Regions from separate parts of the Homo sapiens genome. Here all the other regions are linked to region 2. The links are contacts of gene promoters, found by promoter capture Hi-C in blood cells and fetal thymus (Javierre and others, 2016). All regions are on one chromosome and are shown on one strand. Each heading gives the region's core, a stretch centred on a gene start or on the middle of the fragment in contact. The rest is flanking DNA. Distances are from core to core; before and after follow the strand shown. Region 1 overlaps CTXND2 (cortexin domain containing 2). Region 2 holds the start of HORMAD1 (HORMA domain containing 1). Region 3 overlaps CTXND2 (cortexin domain containing 2). Region 4 overlaps SETDB1 (SET domain bifurcated histone lysine methyltransferase 1). Region 5 overlaps ARNT (aryl hydrocarbon receptor nuclear translocator).

What was found. Contacts are between HindIII fragments. The CHiCAGO score rates a contact against its expected background, and 5 or more counts as called.
Region 1: a contact is called between a fragment that was not itself captured here and the fragment with the promoter of HORMAD1 in region 2, in 1 of 17 cell types (endothelial precursors). The highest score is 5.1, in endothelial precursors.
Region 3: a contact is called between a fragment that was not itself captured here and the fragment with the promoter of HORMAD1 in region 2, in 2 of 17 cell types (M2 macrophages and erythroblasts). The highest score is 6.7, in M2 macrophages.
Region 4: a fragment that was not itself captured here is called in contact with the fragment with the promoter of HORMAD1 in region 2 in 1 of 17 cell types (M1 macrophages); the score reaches 5.1 in M1 macrophages.
Region 5: a contact is called between a fragment that was not itself captured here and the fragment with the promoter of HORMAD1 in region 2, in 4 of 17 cell types (M1 macrophages, endothelial precursors, M2 macrophages and 1 more). The highest score is 7.1, in M1 macrophages.

Annotation. Positions count from the first base shown.
Region 1 is chr1:150,887,669-150,890,470 of GRCh38, reverse strand. All of the region lies in intron 1 of CTXND2 (cortexin domain containing 2), which reads right to left. It also overlaps a transcript of LOC107985204 not described here. Among named protein-coding and RNA genes, the nearest start is that of CTXND2, 1.9 kb to the right of the region's middle. The HindIII fragment of the contact is 3,730 bases long and covers 1-2,802 here.
Region 2 is chr1:150,719,399-150,722,270 of GRCh38, reverse strand. HORMAD1 (HORMA domain containing 1) reads left to right here and starts at 1,376. Exons shown (of 15, transcript NM_032132.5): 1 at 1,376-1,467; 2 at 2,733-2,798. The coding sequence starts at 2,766. The HindIII fragment of the contact is 2,080 bases long and covers 636-2,715 here.
Region 3 is chr1:150,904,490-150,907,228 of GRCh38, reverse strand. All of the region lies in intron 1 of CTXND2 (cortexin domain containing 2), which reads right to left. LOC107985204 (a long non-coding RNA gene) reads left to right here. Exons shown (of 3, transcript XR_001738231.2): 2 at 138-227. Among named protein-coding and RNA genes, the nearest start is that of CTXND2, 19 kb to the right of the region's middle. The HindIII fragment of the contact is 6,110 bases long and covers 1-2,739 here.
Region 4 is chr1:150,961,941-150,964,640 of GRCh38, reverse strand. It overlaps SETDB1 (SET domain bifurcated histone lysine methyltransferase 1), which reads right to left. Exons shown (of 22, transcript NM_001366418.1): 17 at 2,483-2,511; 18 at 1,922-2,054; 19 at 1,502-1,667; 20 at 900-1,111; 21 at 558-646; 22 at 1-394. The coding sequence ends at 277. Among named protein-coding and RNA genes, the nearest start is that of CERS2, 12 kb to the left of the region's middle. The HindIII fragment of the contact is 977 bases long and covers 932-1,908 here.
Region 5 is chr1:150,856,453-150,859,152 of GRCh38, reverse strand. ARNT (aryl hydrocarbon receptor nuclear translocator) reads left to right here. Exons shown (of 22, transcript NM_001668.4): 2 at 693-804. Among named protein-coding and RNA genes, the nearest start is that of ARNT, 19 kb to the left of the region's middle. The HindIII fragment of the contact is 364 bases long and covers 1,110-1,473 here.

The sequences.
Region 1 (2,802 bases), core at 208-2,707, 170 kb before region 2:
AAGGTCATCTTGTACCACCTTCTAATCATTCCTGTAAAGCCCCTGCTTGAGCTCCTTGTGTGACAGGGGCTGGGCACTGACTGTCTCCTGGCTGTCTATCTATTTCAGAAGGTTCTGGAAGGCAGTAATTTTTTACCTTGAGCCAAATCTGTCTTCTTAGTACAGCTTCACTTTTTACTTAGGACTGTTTAAGGCAACACATATCTTTTCCATACACAAGAGTTTCAGTAATTTAAAAATAGCTATTAAGTACGTTTGATTGGTTTCTCAGAGGATGTGGTCTACCACTCTACCCTTTTTCTACTGAAGATTTTCTAGTGTGTCTATATTCCTTTTAAAATGTGGTGCCCAATACAGAATACAAGATGCATGCAAACTCAAGATTATTCATCTAGATACTATACTTCTGTTGCTTAAGACAGGACCATACTGAACCTTGAAAGTCAGGGCAAGGACTTTGAATTTTGTTCTTTCAGGTATCGGGAAGCAATGGAAGGTTTTGAGCAGATAAACATTTTGGGAGCAGGGGCCATATCTTACTGTGTATCCCATTGATTCTAACTAGAATGTAAGCTCTAGGTGTCTGTCCCATTCATAGCATGGATTCAGTGCCTGGGGAGGGCTGGCATATTTTATGTATTTAATACGTCTACATGAATGAATTAATATGAATCTCTATCGGTGTCTGGCACATAGTGCATACAACAGTTCATACTTGTTGAATTCAGGCAGGTAAATGATCAAAGCCATACTTCAGGAAGATAACTGGCAAGAGTGCGTAAAAAGTATTGGAGCTAACACACACTATAGGGTGAAAACAACAAGAGGAGTTTTAGCAGTCTCAACAAGGGGAAACAAGGGCTAGGATAACACAGTGAGTAACAGAAAGGAAAGAATGGATGTGAGATTGTGAAAGAGAATTTGTGACGACCTGGAAATTAAGTGGACATGTAGTGGGAAGAAGAAGGAAGTGATAAAGAAAACTCCTGGGCTTAAATTTGGAAAGCTGAAAGAAAAATGATGCCATTCATAGAATTATTTATTTTAGGAGTTGCTTTTTTTTTTTTTTTTGAGACAGAGTCTTGCTGTGTCGCCCAGGCTGGAGTGCAGTGGTGCGATCTCGGCTCACTGCAAGCTCTGTCTCCCGGGTTCACGCCATTCTCCTGCCTCAGCCTCCCGAGTAGCTGGGACTACAGGTGCCCGCTGCCACGCCCGGCTAAGTTTTTGTAGAGACGGGGTCTCATCCTGTTAGCCAGGATGGTCTCGATCTCCTGACCTCGTGATCCGCCCGCTTCGGCTTCCCAGAGTGCTGGGATTACAGGCGTGAGCCACTGCACCCAGAGGAGTGGCAGATATTTTAAGGTACTAGGATGAAATCAGTCTGAGGTAGGCTGAATTTAAATGCACTGATACAATATGCTCAGGAGGCTAAAATGTGGGACTGGAATTCAGAAGTAGAGTGAGATCGGCTAGGCACGGTGATTCATTCCTATAATCCCAGCCCTTTGAGAGGCTGAGGCGGGTGGATTGCTTGAGCCCAGGAATTCGAGACCAGTCTGGGCAACATAGCAAGACCCCATCTCTACAAAAAAACAAAAACAAAATCAAATTAGCCTGGCGTGGTGGCACGCACCTATAGTCCCTCCCAGCTACTCAGGAGGCTGATGTGAGAGGATCGATTGAGCCCAGGAGGTCAAGGATGCAGTAAGCCATGATCGCACCACTGCACTCCAGCCTGGGTGACAAAGCAAGCCCCTGTCTAAATAAATAAATAAATAAATAATAAAATACATTCTTATTAGAAAGGAAAATGCTGTTTTGTTTCTAAGTATGCCATGTATATTTTTTACTCATTTTCATATGCAGTGATCCAGATTTTGTATGGCCTAAAATTTATACAACATGGGGGTCTCTCTTTAAGGAAAGAATAAAAGATTTAAAATACAAAATTAGGGCCAGGTGCAGTGGCTCACCCCTGTAATCCCAACACTTTGGGAGGCCGAGGTCGCGGGGGATCACCTTCGGTCAGGAGTTCGAGACCAGCCTGGCCAACATGGTGAAACCCTGTCTCTACTAAAAAGTACAAAAAATTAGCCAGGCATGGTGGTGCACGCCTGTAGTCCCAGCTACTCGGGAGGCTGAGGCAGGAGAATTGCTTGAACCTGGGAGGCAGAGGTTGTATTGAGCCAAGATCGCGCCACTGCACTCCAGCCTAGGCGGCAGAGTGAGACTGTCTCAAAAAAAAAAAAAATAAATTAGGTAAAATGTTTTCAAAATGGGGGGAAAAGTCACAACAAATTTAATTCTTATGCAAAATAGCTTTTCTTGAGAAATACACTTTCAAAAATGGTAGAGCTAAAATCTGTTTTCCAAAGGGAATACCTGTCTTAGAATTTTTTTTAAGTGGCTTTTAAGGTTCTTGTTTTGTTTGAGATGAGTAGCAGCACTTCTTGGGATTATAGTAGGAGAAAGGAGGTGTGGTGTGAAGCTATTGGTTTATGTTAAATTTGGACCTACTAAAGTAAGAATCAGAATAATGGCATTTACAAATCCTTGGCAACATCAATTCCACTTTCAGTTCCAGAAAGATCCATTACCTTTTCCTTTCTCTGTGTTCCTTTTCCAGATCACTTCATTCTTCCCACCTGCAATGACCTGCCATTCTTGAAGAAGACCAAAATACTAAAAAGACCCAGTTTTTCTCTCCTGGCCATAAGTTTAGTGCAAAGAGAGAGATGATGGTGAAGAAACACAATAATGCAGCTTTTTTTTACTATAATCCTTAAAATCAAAGACACTCTC
Region 2 (2,872 bases), core at 127-2,626:
TTGGGAGGCTGAGGCAGGAGAATGGTGTGAACCCAGGAGGTGGAGCTTGCAGTGAGCCGAGATCGCACCACTGCACTCCAGCCTGGGCGACAGACAGAGCAAGACTCCGTCTCAAAAAAAAAAATTTATATATATATATTAAGATATTAATAGTGTAACCATAATTTTTTTTTTTTGAAACAAGTCTCACTGCCGCCTAGGCAGGAGTGCAGTGGCTCAAACAGGGCTCACTGCCACTGCAAACTCCTGGGCTCAAGGGATCCTCCTGCCTAAGCCTCCTGAGTAGCTGAGACTACAGGTGTGTGCCACAACCTCTGCCTAATTTTTTTTATTTTTTGTAGAGACAGGGTCTCACTTTGTTGCCCAAGCTGATCCCCAATTTCTGGCCTCAAGCAATTGTTCCGCCTCAGCCTCCCAAAGTGCTGGGATTATTGGCATGAGCCACCACATCTAGCCAACATAACTTTTATACACATGGAAAACTAAAAAATTGTGTAATTTGCTTTATTATGTTGTTTGCTTTATTGGAGGGTCTGGAACTGAACTTGCAATATCTCCAAGGTATGCCTGTAATTGAATGTTTACACTGGTAAGAAATGTATTTGGATATATAATAATCTGTAAACTAAGAAGCTTGTACTACTGAATAATCTCCAACTATTAATACCTACCCACTCTGATTTTATTTTGTTTCTAAATGAGACAAATTACATTCAAAGCTATCCATTGTCCCCAATGACATAACACAGTGGAAGTGGCTAAGTAGAAGACTGCTAAAGCAAATGGTTTCCTGAAGATACAGGAGATTGGAAGGTGGGAATGCAATTTGTGGTAGTTCCAATGAGAAAATCAAAAGTCAGCCGGGTGTGGTGGCTCACGCCTGTAATCCCAGCACTTTGGGAGGCCGAGGGAGGCAGGTCACCTGAGGTCGGGAGTTTGAGACCAGCTTGGCCAACATGGCAAAACCCCGTCTCTACTAAAAATACAAAAATTAGCTGGGCATGGTGGCGGACGCCTGTAATCCCAGCTACTTGGGAGGCTGAGGCAGGAGAATTGCTTGAACCCTGGAGGCAGAGGTTGCAGTGAGCCAAGATCATGCCACTGCACTTCAGCCTGGACGACAAGAGCAAAACTCCGTCTCAAAAAAAAAAAAAAAAAAAAAAGAAAGAAAATCAAAAGTCAGAAAAACAATCAGAAATTCAGTAACTGCACATGCAGTTACTTAACCTTCCCCCTTCTGTCTGGCTTTTCCACTGCCTGAGACGTGGCGCTGAGGCTTCCCGTGTCTGAGGCTCCCAGTGCGCCTTGCGCTGCGCTTGGCGGGAAAGGTGACCTCGACCAGGGGTCAAAAAGCCACTGTCGCGCCCCAGCGGGTGACCGTTGAAGGAAAGCGCATGCGCGTCGGGCACAGCGCGTGCAGCCTCGTGCAGCTCTTCTGGTCTCCGGCGCCCGCCCCTCAGACGTAATGTAATATATATTAGTGTGTATATATCTGTGTGTGTGTGCGTATATTTTACTTTTTAATCTCTTTGTCTGTCAGCTTCCCCCTACTTTTAAGTTTCTTAAGGTCTTAGTGGTAAAACATTTGCGGTAAAAATGTATACCCACTTACTTGTCAACAGAGGTTCTTGAGATGGGGTGAGTACGGACGGCGAATTCAGGATTTGTCAGGATAAATTTAAACGTTTAACGTAAATAGGTTCTTCTATGAAGTTTGCCTCTTTAGTAAACTCTTCCAGCTGAATTGTCTGATTAAGAAAAGTGAAACTGGGGCCGGACACAGTGGTTCCGGACACACAACTTCCTGTAATCCCAGCAAGTTGGGCGGCTGAGGCCGGAGGATCATTTGAGACCAGCCTGACCAACATGGCGAAACCCCGTCTCCACTAAAAATAGAAAAAAAAATTAGCGGCCGGGCACGGTGCTTCACGCCTATAATCCCAACACCTTGGGGGCCGAGGCGGGCGGATCACGAGGTCAGGAGTTTCCTGGCCAACATGGTGAAACCCCGTGTCTACTAGAAATACAAAAATTAGCTGGGCGTGGTGGCACGCCTGGAGTCCCAGCTACTCAGGAGGCTCAGGCAGGAGAATCACTTGAACCCAGAGGGGGAGGTTGCGGTGAGCCGAGATCGCGCCATTACACTCCAGCCTGGGCAACAGAGAGAGACACCGTCTCGAAAAAAAAAATTGTATATATATATATGGTGGGCACCTGTGGTCCCAGCTACTCGGGAGGCTGAGGCAGGAGAATCGCTTGAACCCGGGAGGCGGAGCTTGCAGTGAGCTGAGATCGCGCCACTGCACTCCAGCCTGGCGACAGAGCGAAACTCCGTCTCAAAAAAATGAAAAATAAAAACAAATAAAACTGAAAAAGTTTAGAGGGTTTGCCAGGCAATTTTTCATTACTGAATACCTACCTGTACAATGTTGTCATTGTTTGAATTTGTATAGGGAATAAAAATAGGAAGATTGTGCCTTTTTAAAAAGTTCTCTTAAACAGTTTCTTAATAACCCATTTGTTTGAGACTTGCTAGTCAAATGGCTTCAAATCAGGACCCTACTCAAAATGGTTCTACTGCAATATCGACCTCTACGTTTTTGAAGACTCTATTTTAATTAAAGAAATTCAAATTTATTCACATAAAATTGTTTTGAATTTTATATGTGGTAAACTGAAATGTTAGAGGAAAAAAATGAGCTCTAAGTTAAAGCTTGTATTTGTGTCACAAGGTTGAATTAAAGAAAATACTTTATCAGAAGAAGATGGCCACTGCCCAGTTGCAGAGGACTCCCATGGTATGATTTCTTGTATTTTGGTATATCTTAATAATAGCTGCTTTTATTGTTTCTTGAAGTCTCAAATACTCTGT
Region 3 (2,739 bases), core at 99-2,598, 180 kb before region 2:
CAATTGTACATTTGAAATGGTTGAATTGTATGTGAATTATATCTTAATAAAGCTGGTTTTTGTAAAACCTTAGTTCAGTTTTAAATTCCTAATCTTATAGAGGATTTAGAGTTCTATTAGCTCTTCTCCCTTTTCAGGCTTCTTCTTCTGCATTGTACAGGATCAGGAAGAAAGGAAGGGGAAAATGTGAAGTGTTTCTCTATTTAATGAATCAGCTGTGGCCAACTGTGAGTAGGTGACCTGGTCTTACTCTGGTTAGATCTGGTGGTTTCAGAGTGAAGGATGTTTGTAGTTTTTTGAGTAGCGTTTCTCTTCATTCTGGACTTTTCTGTCATTGAAGACCCCTTCAAATGGTGCTGCTTATCCTCTATTCTCCCAACCTAAACTCACGTTGGATATCACATGGCTTGGTACAGTGGTCTCCTGGCACCTCCCACTGCTCCTGCTCCTTCGGAGACACCTGAAGTCCTTCAAGGGGAGTGGCCAGACTGTGATGGGTTGGGGGGATTGGCCACATTTTCTTCCTAGGCATACTCTGCCAAGGTACCTATAAACCCTGCCAGCACAGATTATTCCAGTGGGCCTTCCACTTTCAGATCTCTGTAGCCAAGAAATTGACATGATTTTTTATGTTTGCACAGGTTAAAAACTCACACCATGCTTTACTCCAACCTGACCAGAGTGGTTTGGCAGGTTCTACAGTTTAAAGCATCTATCTAGGGAATGAAATGCTGTTAGTCTCTCCTTGCTGGTGTCACCAATTGTACCAATGTCTCTCTTGGCATGCCCTCATCTTTGGCTTTGGGAGGAAGGGGAAGTACTTTTATCTTTGCTTCTCATCACAAATTTTGTACATCCCATAATGCCGATAATGAGAATTCCCAGTTGCCCTCCCAGTTCATTCTTTTTGTTGTTGTTGTTGTTGTTTTTGAGGTAGGGTCTCACTCTGTCACCCAGGCTGGAGTGCAGTGGCATGGTCATAGCTCAATGCAGCCTCAACCTCCTGGGCTCAAGTGATCCTCCTGCCTCAGCCTCCTGGATAGCTGTGACTACAGGTGCCCACCACCATACTTGGCTGATTTTTAAATTTTTTGTAGAGACGAGGCCTTACTATGATGCCCAGGCTGGTTTCAAACTCCTGGGCTCAAGCAACCCTCTGCCCACCTCAGCTTCCCAAAGTGCTGGGATTATAGGCATGAGCCACCACACCCGGCCCCAGTTCATCCTTCTTTTTTTTTTGAGATGGAGTCTCGCTCTGTCGCCCAGCCTGGAGTGCAGTGGTGTGATCTCAGCTCACTGCAAGCTCCGCCTCCCGGGTTCACGCCATTCTCCTGCCTCAGCCTCCCGAGCAGCTGGGACTACAGGTGCCTGCCACCACACCCGGCTAATTTTTTGTATTTTTAGTAAAGATGGGGTTTCACCGTGTTAGCCAGGATGGTCTCGATATCCTGACCTCGTGATCTGCCCGTCTCGGCCTCCCAAAGTGCTGGGATTACAGGCGTGAGCCACTGCGCCCGGCCTTATTCTTTATATATACTGTGGTGGGACAAGGGGTGGGAGTTGGTGGATATACGATTGACTACGCCATCTTCTCATGAGATTTGGAAGAGGTTCTGGCTCTAATTGTTGCAGCTTTCTTTAGATTATAAGTAGTATTGTGCCTTCAATAAGACTTGACCACAATTCTGGGGCAACAGGGTAAGTTGCACTCATATCTTTTACACTGGGTTTTCATGCCACCCCCTGGACTCCTCCCAGATGTGCAGATGGAATGGGCAGATAAGGCCGGGTGCCACGGCTCATGCCTATAATCCCAGCACTTTGGGAGGCCGAGGTTGGGGGGGATCACCTGAGGTCAGGAGTCCGAGACCAGCCTGGCCAACATGGTGAAACCTCATCTCTACTAAAAATACAAAAACTAGCTGGGCATGGTGGTGTGTGCCTGTAGTCCCAGCTACTTGGGAGGCTGATGCAGGAGAATGACTTGAATCCGGGAGGTAGAAGTTGCAGTGAGCCAAAATTACACCCTTGCACTCCAGCCTGGGTAACAGAATGAAACTCGGCCTAAAAAAAAAAAAAAAAAAAGAATTGGCAGATTCTGCAAGTTCCTTATGAAGGGTGATTTGTGTGTGTGTGTGTGTGTGTGTGTGTGTGTGTGTGTGTGTGGTTTTCTTTTTGATTATCTTGTCTTATGATCACACATAATTTTAAAATTTGTGTGTATCTCCTCTACTTTAATCCTTTTAAGTTGGCAAAAGCATCATTCCCAATCACAAATACATAGCAGTTCTACAGTTTTATGTTTCTGAATGGCTGTTTAAAGACTATCCTAAATTATAACTTAGTTTGACAAGCATTCAAGAGTGAAGTTTAACTTGCTACTATTTTAAAAGCATGTGACCTTATAGATCATTTATAAAATGTGAGAAATGCTAAATAATCTTTGATATTACACATAAAACACACTAAAATGTCTTTCAATAAGTAAAAGGAACCATTTTAAATACAGGGAATTCTAATTAGATTGGCATAGTTAAGGCCAAAAATATAAAGTAGACATTACTACCTTATTTATCTTCAACCCTTGCCTTTATGGACACAAAACACAGGTGAATCTTGCTTGGTTCTGAGACAGTGAAGGAATTTCTCCAGTATTCAAATATATTCACATAACCAGTTATATAAATCTAAATATAAAACCAATCTCCAGTAAGTTTGAAGATGGTACTCACCATCTTT
Region 4 (2,700 bases), core at 171-2,670, 240 kb before region 2:
CAGGAACACTTGGACAAATATGGGATGGGAGGGATGTCAGGCCGAGGTTAGAGTGGTGATCTCTCCCCACCCTTTAGGGCCTTTGGAGGTGGAGAAGGGATCCTGCCTGCTAGCACCACATTGGAAGGGATCATCTGGTCCAGAACCCCCATTTCTATCAACTAGGAGCTGGGGGGAGTAGCTAGCCCAGAGACTTCGGGTCAGGGTTCAACAATCAGGAAGACCCAGTTCCTGAGGAAACGACAGTTCAAGAAGGGTTGGGAAGAAGGCTGTCCTCTAAAGAAGACGTCCTCTGCATTCAATGGCCCCACAGCAACAGAGTAGCTCCTTGCCTTCCACACTGCCCACCTCGTAGTTGTAGTCCCAAGTAAGTTCTGTCCCAGCCCGGATTCTTCTGAAGAGGAAGAAAAGGATGGTGTGTGGCAAAGACAGCAGATAACCCAGGCACTTGGGGTTACTGAATATGTAGGTGGAGTTGGATCATGAATGGAGGAGGGGCCCTTAGAACTTCAGTGGTCCTTGCCCCTCCCCAGTCATCCCCTTTCCTGACTCCTTACTTGCTGGCAAAGAAGGCCACCCAGGGGAAGCGAAGATCATGGGTATCCACGAAGACATTCTGGACAAACAGGTTGGGGCTGCAACTGTGCTGTAGGTTTAAGGACAGGATCAAATAAGAACCAGGGAAACTGAACCTGGCTTTGCAGGGAGAGTGAGAGTTGGAAGAAAAATGATGCCATCTGACCCTCCCCATTATAATAGATGCTTTGAAAGAAAGCTACCTCTTTAAGATCCTTTGAGATCAAGAGTTTATAACAAGAAAAGGGCTTATAGAGTATGTTAAAAGAAATCTGAGGACCATGGGATAATCCAGCATCTAGAGGTGGGGAGAGGGGTCTCACGTTGAGGTAGCGGCCCAGGTTGCCTTCAAGCTTGGCATCAATGATGTAGCAAGACTCCTCGCCATCATAGAATTGGCGTGTGTTCTTACGAACAGGTGCGCTCTCCCCCTTGTCCACAGAGGCCATGTTGGTTGATTTAATTGCAATCCCATGGGTTGATTTAAGAGCAAAGCCTCGGGTTGATTTTACTGCCACTTGACGCTTCATTGGACCTGGACAGGAGGGAGAATGGGGTCAGGACCCATCCCAACTCATGAACAGACATTCTATCATGAATGGACATTCTACCCCTATTTCTCTCCCAACATTGCAGCTGAGAAACACCAATAAGCTGGAACTCAAAGATCCTAAGTAGCAGGTTTTTTTTTCAAGCATAATTAGATCTGCTAGACAAAGGAGCTGAGGGGAAAGAGTAAAAAAATGGAAATGAGAGAGGATGTGTCAAACAATAGTTTAGCTTGGAGTCAGAAAGCCCTCCCAGAGATGCTCCAATTCTTAGGATCTGAATTTTTACCCACTACTTCTTTAGCTTCCTTAAAAAATGCTCTATCCCAAGTTTCTTACTATTTCTTCCCACCATTCCCAAAATTTTTCCAGGCTACCAGTCATGTTCTTCTTGTCCTCAAAGTCATCCCCTTCAGAGCCAGAGGATATGGTCTGGATATCATCACTGTCAACCGCTGTAGCCGAAGTCTGACCAGCAGTGGGCTTTCGGCTGGTCCCACTTTCCCCCTCACTTTCTGTGCTGCTGGACAGTGTCAGGACATCCTGGGGAAGCAGGAGGGTAAGAAGTAAGAGAAGTAAATGGGAAGGGCTCCTTTAAGTCCTTGCTGTTACCCACGGTTTGGCAGGAAAGGGCGGTGGCAAGAGGAAGATTAGATGCTGGATGAAAGAAAATAAGGCAGGAAGTCAAGGCTAAAGAAGTAGGAGAAGACCTAACAGTAATTATAGTGAAGGACTTGATGAGGTGACAATGGCCCATTTTCCTTTATTAGACTCTGAATAAGCTTGAGGTGACTTACATCAGGGTTGGACTGAGCAGAAGCCATGAGTCTTCGGCTTTGATGCATACTAGTCTTACTAGGTGGGCGGCGAAGTCCTTCAGGCTTCACAGGAGAAGGATTGTAACCGTAATTTCGAGAGCTTTCAGTAACTCTAATGGGAGGGGAAGGAATGAAGCCAACAGGTTACTGGCTGTTTCTTAGGCTTCTAGCCTAGGTTTGAGAGAAGGCAGATTTGGAGACAGGTCAAAAAGACAGGCACTGGGCTGGACACGGTAGCTCATGGCTGTAATCCCAGCACTTTGGGAGGCTGAGGATCCCCTTTGGGAGCATCGCTTGAGCCCAGGAGTTCAAGACCAGTCTGGGAAACATGGTGAAACCCCGTGTCTACAAAAAATACAAAAACTAGCCAGGCATGGTGGTGCACACCCGTAGTCCCAGCTACTAGGGAGGCTGAGGTGGGAGAATCTCTTGAGCCTGGGAGGGGGAGGTTGCAATGAGCTGAGATTACGCCACTGCACTCCAGCCTGGGTGACAAAGCAAGACTCTGTCTCAAAACAAAACAAAACAAAAGGCACTTACACTGACATCTTGTTTCGGTCGTCAGTGTCCTGGAAAAGAACAAGTGAAGGGTTAAATGCTTTCACAGCCTCGGGTAACAAGTCCAATAATCAGACTTCAAATGACCTCCACAGATAACATCAGCCAGTGACAGGTACACATTCTAAAGTGGGGTGGGTAAACCACTCTGCAACTTGACAGAAATCCTCACTACACTCCCTGGCTGGAGCCTTTAAGCC
Region 5 (2,700 bases), core at 42-2,541, 140 kb before region 2:
TAAAATAAGTTATAAATATTTGTTGCATGAATGAAATGTATAAACCCATTTATGTATGTATTTTTTTAAAATTAGTATATTATTAAGTCTATACAATATTAGTATATTGTTATGTATGTATAAGCTTTTTAACATGAAGTTTGCAGAATATAGTACTTCTTCCAAACTCTATGACATGGGGGGAACTGAAGTATGGGGATATCTTGTACCAGTGTAAGAATTCAAGAAGAGACCGTGTGTGGTGGCTCATGCCTATAATCCCAGCACTTTGGGATGCCAAAGCAGGATGATCTCTTGGAGCTAGGCGTTCAAGACCAGCCTGGGCAACATATCAAGACCCCATCTCTAAAAAAAAAAAAAAAAATTAACTGGGTGTGGTAGTGCGGGCCTATAGTCCTAGCTATTCCAGAAGCTGAGGTGGGAGGATTGCTTGAGCCCAGGAGTTTGAGGCTGTAGTGACCTATACCAGTGATTATACCAGTGCACTCTAGCCCAGGCAACAGAGTGAGACCTGGTCTCAAAAAAAAAAAAAAAAATCAAGAAGAGCAATCTGGATATGAGCATTTGGGATTTTTAGCAAACTGCTGAGATTTTGTCTATAGCTTGAACCTTTCTTTTAGCTAACTTGATGATACTGATGATAAGCAAGGACTGTCTTTTTAAAAATGTTTACTTCATTATTTTCCTGACAGAAATGACATCAGATGTACCATCACTGGGTCCAGCCATTGCCTCTGGAAACTCTGGACCTGGAATTCAAGGTGGAGGAGCCATTGTCCAGAGGGCTATTAAGCGGCGACCAGGGTGAGTTTGAGTGTAGTGTGTTATGAATATCTCTCCTATAAACCAACTTTAGTTGCTGAATTTATTTAGTTGCTGAACTCACTTCGCTATTCCTGACCATCTCACTTCAACTTGATTACTTACTACACTACTGTCATATAAGTCTCCTTAGTCCCTGTATTTTTGTTTATGAAGAATTTGTTTTTATCCAAGTTTCCCGTAAGCAGTTCTTTTTTTAAACCAAAATTTCCGTAAGATAAAGGACTGTAGCTAAGCCCAGAGATTTTACTATGCCTGAGAAAACTGTTTGCTGCTTTCATTAAGCTTTGTTTCTGTTTTCCCAAAATCATTTTGGTAGGCTGCTTTTCTGAATTTAGAGAATGCTGAGCTCTAGAATAGCTGTCTTCTAAGTTATTGATATGTTGCTTGGTTTGGAATGCAGAGTCCATTCAGCTCCAAAAGTATTTATTAAATTCCTAATTAGTGTTATGGCATTGTGCTGATTCCAAGTAGGATACAAAGATGAATAAGACACAGTCCTTGTTTCTAAGTTGGTTGTGTTCTGATAGAAATAATTATTATACACATGAATATATGATAGAATATGCCTAGTTTTGTTAGGAACAAATTTGATACTATGTTTTTCTGTGTATGGAAATATGCATTTGTTGGTAAAGACTGAGAAAAGCTTCAGAAAGGAGGTTGCCTTAGAGGGGCCTGGAAGAATGGGCACTATTTTATTTACTTTTTGGTATTAAATTTTCCTTTTTCCTTCTTTTTCTTTTTAAAAATTGTGCAGCTAATTATAACCAGTCTTTAAGTTTTGTCCCACCAATAGTAATGGAAGAGTGATGCTTGGGTTCAGTGGTAACATGAGTAACATATTAAGACTTGTTATATGTTCAGTAGCTTTACAGATTTTAACCATTTGCTGAAGCATAAGCTGAATAAGTAACTTTCTAAGATTGTAAAGCTAGTAAGTGTCAGATATAGGATATGAACCTTAGGGGTTTAGCTTTGTAGCTTACTCTTTAAACACTGTGTTATGTTTATGTACAGTAACAAACAAAAGTATTATAAATATCAAAATTAGGGCATCACTTGAGAAAGTCATAGTATATTTAAAATGGAATGCTATGTAGTTATAAGCGACAAATATGTTTCAGTGTAGAAAGATGTTCACAATCTATTAAGAAAGGTTACAGTATTATAGTATTTCACTGTCAAAAGATATGTATAACATGTACATAGGAAAAAACTGAAAGAATATATACCACATTTCTGGGTAATAGTATTATGGGTGACTTACGGTTTCTTTTGTTTTTGATTTTTCAGATTTTTGAAATGAACATGTATGATTGGTAATCAGAAAAATATATTAAAGGAAGTCTTTAAAAATTTTCTTTTTGGTTTTTTTAGAGACAGGGTCTTGTACCCTGGCTGGAGTGCAGAGGCACAATCATGGCCCACTGCAGCCTCAAACTCCTGCTCAAGCAGTCCTCCTGCCTTGGCCTCCCAAAGTACTGGGATTACAGGCGTGAGCCACTTCACCTGTCCTAAAAGAAGTCTTTTAATATTTCTTTTATTTTTATTTACTTATTTATTTTCGAGGCAGAGTCTTGCTCTTTTGCCAGGCTGGAGTGCAGTGGTGTGATCTTGGCTCACTGCAATCTCCACCTCTCTGGTTCAAGGGATTCTCCTGCCTCAGCCTCCCAAGCAGCTGGGACTACAGGCGTGCGCCACCACGCCCAGCTAATTTTTGTATTTTTAGTAGAGATGGGATTTCACCACGTTGGCCAGGCTGGTCTCGAACTCCTGACCTCAGGTGATATGCCCACCTTGGCCTCCCAAAGTGCTGGGATTACAGGCATGAGCCACCATGCCCGGCCTAATATTTCTTTTATTTATTTATTTTAT